Linked DNA regions of Homo sapiens: region 1 is linked to region 2. The links are contacts of gene promoters, found by promoter capture Hi-C in blood cells and fetal thymus (Javierre and others, 2016). All regions are on one chromosome and are shown on one strand. Each heading gives the region's core, a stretch centred on a gene start or on the middle of the fragment in contact. The rest is flanking DNA. Distances are from core to core; before and after follow the strand shown. Region 1 holds the start of CDCA5 (cell division cycle associated 5). Region 2 holds the start of SF1 (splicing factor 1).

Region 1 (3,072 bases), core at 569-3,068, 310 kb before region 2:
TTCACATACATACATTTACCCATTCATTCACCCCAAGTACAGATCAACACACTAACACTCATTTAAACACACAATGTACATTAAGTGCCTGCAAGTACACACATGCACTCACAAGGAGAAACACATATGGAGCTGACTCTTGCATGAGCTCCTTCAAAAACTGGAGCTAAGGCTCTTACCCCAGATTCAGGTCAAAGTCATGACACATATGTCTGCTGACTTCTTTTAGCTAACTTTAATGTGGGAAACTCACTTCCTCTCTGTTTAGCCTTGGAATCAGTGGTGGATCCTGAATATCTGAAAGCAACATGCCGGTCTGGCTAGCTAATAGTCACGGCCACCAGCATACCCGTAAGCTTGACTGGTTCTCGCTGAAACCTCCAGATTGGCAGGGCTTAATTTTTAGGAAAGAGGAACTAGGAGCTTTAATTTTTAGGAAAGACAGTGAGGCCTAGAAAGGAAGAATAACTTGCCTGAACTTACACAGCAGGTAAGGAACTTTAACAGGACTAGAATCTGGGCTCTGAGACTCGGGGGACTCACTGTCCTGCTGCTTGAGGAGGGCCTGGAAACCAGTCACCAAGCTGGCCCCTGAGGCTGGCCTGATCCCCCCGAGGTGCCAAGGCCTCACCATAGCAGACAAGGCGGGTCGTCTCTCGGCTGGCCAGGGGTATGTTGCACAGGCGGCAATTGGGGTTGTAGTCGCTATCTTGGAGCCATTGCAGGTAGGACTGGACGATGCACTGGAGTGGGAGAGAGATGTCACAACTGGTGCTGGGGCTGCTCGGCCTATCACCCCAAGGTCCGACTGTCTCTTTTTCTCTAGCCACAGAGGAGACTCATCCTTTCGTTTGTTTAATCAATAAATATTTATTGAGCACATACTGTGCACCAGACTCTCTCTTGGGAACGGGGGATATATCAGTGAACAAAATAAATCAAGTCCTTGCCCTTGTGGGGCTTACATTCTAGCGCGGGGCCCCTCATGGATTTGGAGGAAGCCAATACCGCCTTGCCCACCCAGTGCCCTGCTCAGTCGCTCCCCTGAAGGCCCCACCTTGGCGTGATTGGCTACCAGGCAGTGCTCGCAGACGTTGACCCGATGTTCGAAGCAGAACAGGTTGGTCACCTTTCTCTTGGGGCACTTACAAAGCCCCATGATCGATCCTGGGAAAGGGGCATGAGTTGGTAGGAAGTCAGGTTCTGGTGGCCACCACTACGCTCTCACCAGCCCAGTTTCCACTCTTAACTCCCCCAGACACCTCTCATATTCGCCCCGATCTCAGATTCCTGCCCACTGTCCCTCCTTATGCGGAGAAACACCCCCTGCATAAATCCCGCCTCCGGCGACCCCTCAATCCTTCTGGATCCCGCCCCCGGCCAGGCCCCTCCATCAGAGGCTCCCCGATACTACCGGCCCCGCCCCCAAGACCTCTCCTGAGCCCCACCCCCTCCAAGTCCCGCCCCTTCTCTACAGACCCCAGTCTCTGTGTTTACTGATCGGCCGCTGCACTGGTTCCGAAGGGCGGTAGCGATGGCTCGAGGCGCGGAAGGGCAGGGACCACTCTCCCCAGGGCTCCTGCGCCTCTCCCTTCAGCCCCGGCCGCCCCGATTATCCCTCCGCTGCCACGTCTCTTCCGGGTGCGGCGCGCGCTGATGACGCCATCGCGCCCCTGGGCCACGCCTCCGCTGCCGCTAGAGGTGAAGACGGGTGGAAAAGACTCGGGGTTCCGAGGGCCGCAGACCGCTAGCCCTACGTCACTTCCGCTTCCTTTCCCGCAGGGCGGGTAATTCGAACGTTTTTTGCAGCGAGTGGCCTTCCCGGTTGGCGCGCGCCCGGGGCGGCGGCGCTGGAGGAGCTCGAGACGGAGCCTAAGTTATGTCTGGGAGGCGAACGCGGTCCGGAGGAGCCGCTCAGCGCTCCGGTGAGCGGAGGGCGCGCGGGAGACGTGAGGTCGAGCCGTTTGGGGGACGCAGTCCGGTGAAAGATGGCCTCTTCCCTCCCGCTGCCGCCGCCGGAGGAGGCGCCCTTAAAAGGGCTTGTTTGGGAATCTTCTCGCTGTCTCTAGAACCTGTTCTCTGGACTCTAAGGTCTAGAGTCCTCCTCTACCACTTAACTTTTTTCTCTTTCCAGGGCCAAGGGCCCCATCTCCTACTAAGCCTCTGCGGAGGTCCCAGCGGAAATCAGGCTCTGAACTCCCGAGCATCCTCCCTGAAATCTGGCCGAAGGTGAGCCCCAGATTTCTCACTTCCTCCCCTTGTGGCCCCTCACCTAATGTTGAGCTCACGTTCATCCCTCTTCTCCAGACACCCAGTGCGGCTGCAGTCAGAAAGCCCATCGTCTTAAAGAGGATCGTGGCCCATGCTGTAGAGGTAAAGGCTAAGGAGAGTGTTGTGGGTGGTTAGGCGGGCAAAACTGGGGACCAGCTATGTGATCAATTGGTATTGTCCCCCGCAGGTCCCAGCTGTCCAATCACCTCGCAGGAGCCCTAGGGTGAGTTCACTTTCATCTACTTAATTAAGTAGAATCTGGGTCACTCTAGAGCTGGACAGCACACATTGGCTCCTCACATCTGCCCAGGGAGCTGTTTTGCAGTACTGCAAAAACAGTTTGCCTGTGGGCACCTGCATGCATTGCCAGTCTTGATTACTCCCTGAAGACTTAATACACTTAACTTTTTATGCCTTGTGTATTTCTACCATTTTCCTGGAACTTCCTTTAAAAGCTGAGCTATGTCTTAACTCCACGTACTGCCTTTCTAATCCATTATGCCTTCAGCTTTCATGTATGGGTGTTCTGAGATAAGTCATGTGTATGACATTTTTACAGTTTTAGCAGAAGTTATTATCAAAGGATGTTTCATTAATAGACAATCTGAAGACATACTGACTGAGAAATGTGAACTCCTTTGAAGAGCTGATAGGGCTTAGAGTCAACTGGGGAGAAAGACCAATGACAAGTGATAGCAACGTTGTGTACTGGGACTGCAATAAGGAATACTAGATGCTATGATGGTAGCTAACCCAGACCATGTGGCTCAGGGAATGTTTCGTGGAAGAAGAAACATTTGA
Region 2 (2,940 bases), core at 5-2,504:
TGCTCCGTCTTGTAAAGTTTTCCCAGTACTGTAGTAGTTATTTTTATTTTTATTTTTGACAGTCTCGCTCTGTCACCCAGGCTGAAGTGCAGTGGCCCCATCTCGGCTCACTGCAACCTCCGCCTCCCGGGTTCAAGCGATTCTCTTGCCTCATCCTCCTGGGAAGCTGGGATTGCAGGAGTGCACCACTACACCCAACTAATTTTTGTATTTTTCGTAGAGACGGGGTTTCGCCATGTTGGTCAGGCTGGTCTCGACCTTCTGACCTTGTGATTCGCCCGCCTCGGCCTGTCAAAGTGCTGGGATTACAGGCGTGAGCCACCGCGCCCGGCCGTAGTTATTGTTTTATACGATTTTAAGATCATTTAATTAAATCCTCTGAACTCCGTGGAGATTCCAATAGAAGTGTGTATTTGTAATTTTTGAACTGACAACCTTCTGTTACCTTTCATCTAATATGTTGTTGCATCAGTTCAAATACTGTTTTAAATCCTTCGATAAGTCGTCTCTATTCGTAGCTTTTTGGGTCACTTTTTTTTTTTTTTTTTTTTTCCAAAAAAACAGGAAGTCTTTTTACCTGCAGCGTCAACTGAGCCGGTTTTCCGGCGCGCGCCAGCCCCTCCCCTGCTCCCGCCCCAAGGTTCTGCGTTACCATGGGAACAAAGGTTGACGTCACTTAGGGCTTCCTTGCTGGACCCAAGGGTCGATGGTGAAGGGAGACGGGTGGAGAGGCGGTTTTGCTCCATCTACGCATGCGCACTTCCTGCTCCAGGACTCCCCCGCCGTAAATCTCGTTCCGGCTGGGCCTTTTCCGCCGCGACTCTCGCTTAATCCCGGAGAAACTGCCCCCTGGGGGAGGGGAGTAGAAAAAGGCTGGAACCAGCGACAGCCAATCCCGCGACACTACAACGCAGGCGAGATTGATTGAGTCCACCACCGCAGCCAATGAGAGAGCTCGCCGTCGCTCCGTCATAGAGTTCGCCCCACCCCATCCCCTCCTTTCTGGACTCGGAGCTCAGTTCACGCAGTAACAAATGAAGTGCGCGCTGCGACACCTCCCAGCCCACCGAACTCCGCCGCCATTTCCTCGCTTGGCCTAACGGTTCGGCCAATCCCAGCGCGCATCAAGAAGGACTGAGGCTCCGCCAATCGGAGGCCGCCGATTTCGACCCTTCGCCTCGGCCCGGCCCAATCCAGGCCCCGGCCCCGCCGCCCCCGGCCCGCCCCCGCGGTGCCCTCTCTCCTCCCTCTTTGTGCGTCTCGCGCCGCCGCCGCCCGCCGCGTGAGAGGACGGGCTCCGCGCGCTCCGGCAGCGCATTCGGGTCCCCTCCCCCCGGGAGGCTTGCGAAGGAGAAGCCGCCGCAGAGGAAAAGCAGGTGCCGGTGCCTGTCCCCGGGGGCGCCATGGCGACCGGAGCGAACGCCACGCCGTTGGGTAAGCTGGGCCCCCCCGGGCTGCCCCCGCTCCCCGGGCCCAAAGGAGGCTTCGAGCCGGGCCCTCCGCCTGCACCCGGGCCTGGGGCGGGGCTGCTGGCTCCCGGGCCGCCGCCGCCCCCGCCCGTGGGCTCGATGGGGGCCCTGACCGCGGCCTTCCCCTTCGCGGCGCTGCCTCCGCCGCCTCCGCCGCCGCCCCCTCCGCCTCCCCAGCAGCCGCCGCCGCCTCCACCGCCACCGTCCCCCGGCGCCTCGTACCCGCCGCCGCAGCCGCCCCCTCCGCCGCCGCTCTACCAGCGCGTGTCGCCGCCGCAGCCGCCGCCACCCCAGCCGCCGCGTAAGGACCAGCAGCCGGGCCCGGCCGGCGGCGGAGGAGGTGAGTCGGGCCGAGAGAGCGCGAGAGGCGTCGCGCGGACGGGCCCGGCCGCCTGAGGGGCGCGCGGCGGCGGCGACGGCGGCTGCACGCGGCAGGGGCGCGCGTGCGCGCACGGGGAGGCCCGGGCGGAGGCGCCCCTGGGCGCGCGCGGCCTGGTTCTAGGGCCTCGAGTGCGCACGCGCGCTGTGGGGGGAGGGCTGGGCGGGCGGGAGGCGCTCTGTGCGCAGACGCAGTGAGGTGGCCGGGCTGTGCGGCGCAACTGTATAGACTGGGGGCCCACTATTGCTGTCCAGTCCGCTGGTGTCGGGAACAGGGGTGGCGGGTGTTCAGCGCTGGACGGGGTGCTAGCTGTGAATGCCAGCAGGGCGTGAAAGCCTCACCTGATGACGTGCAGCGACTCCCTTCTGGTCTTGAGGAACCAGAATGGGAACCGTACCAAGGATAGCTCCTCTGCTTCTACAGCAAGGCAGGGTTTTCATCCGGGAGAGGTTGGCATGCTTCAGATGATGGTTGGGTCTGATCTTTCTTGGTCTCTTTTGGGGAGAGAATTTTAGTTTGTTTTTTTTTTTAAATCTGTTCAGTATGTTTAGATCTCAGTCTGATCGGCTGCCCTGTCGCTTTGTTTTAAAAAGCTTTTCCCTCTGATCCTGTACCCCTTGGGAAATAGAAGGACTCTTTTGTGGCAAATGTAGGGAGTTTCTGCCTATGTACGGGGAAAGGAGAACTTGGCTGCTATTGTATAGGTTGTTGAATTTTTGATAGATCCTTTTAAGAGTTCAGACCCTCAGTGTCCAACTGGCCAGGAAAACTGAATGCTGATCTTGGCTAAACTTATGAAGACAAAGGTGATCTTGTTGAAGAATTGGGCTTTTCCCACTTGGTAGGGTGTAACTAGGTTTAGTTGTGGTCCGGCCTCTCGTACAAAAGTGACTGGTGAGGGGAGTGGAGGTGGGTGGAGCCCCCAGTCCCATCAGGACTGCTTTACAAATCTATGATTCTTCAGTGTATTTTTGTCTCCCCTGGGGATTTCAGAGCACTCATGGTTGATGTAGTATCTATCTAACACTCTCTGCAGCCATATGCATTAAGATTACCACGTTTATATATCTGACAGTTTTTCTAGACAAAAGA

What was found. The method cuts DNA at HindIII sites, captures the fragments that hold promoters and counts their contacts. A CHiCAGO score of 5 or more calls a contact.
Region 1: the fragment with the promoter of CDCA5 here is called in contact with the fragment with the promoter of SF1 in region 2 in 1 of 17 cell types (M2 macrophages); the score reaches 6.5 in M2 macrophages.

What each region holds. Positions count from the first base shown.
Region 1 is chr11:65,082,786-65,085,857 of GRCh38, reverse strand. It overlaps CDCA5 (cell division cycle associated 5), which reads left to right and starts at 1,818. Exons shown (of 6, transcript NM_080668.4): 1 at 1,818-1,925; 2 at 2,135-2,229; 3 at 2,308-2,373; 4 at 2,459-2,494. The coding sequence starts at 1,880. ZFPL1 (zinc finger protein like 1) reads right to left here and starts at 1,636. Exons shown (of 8, transcript NM_006782.4): 1 at 1,480-1,636; 2 at 1,058-1,167; 3 at 632-743. The coding sequence starts at 1,159. RefSeq lists enhancers at 333-917, 1,507-1,776, 1,857-2,086. The HindIII fragment of the contact is 9,431 bases long and covers 359-3,072 here.
Region 2 is chr11:64,776,856-64,779,795 of GRCh38, reverse strand. It overlaps SF1 (splicing factor 1), which reads left to right and starts at 1,254. Exons shown (of 13, transcript NM_004630.4): 1 at 1,254-1,434. The coding sequence starts at 1,404. RefSeq lists enhancers at 790-899, 876-1,477 and silencers at 1,140-1,539, 1,800-2,109. The HindIII fragment of the contact is 14,384 bases long and covers 1-2,443 here.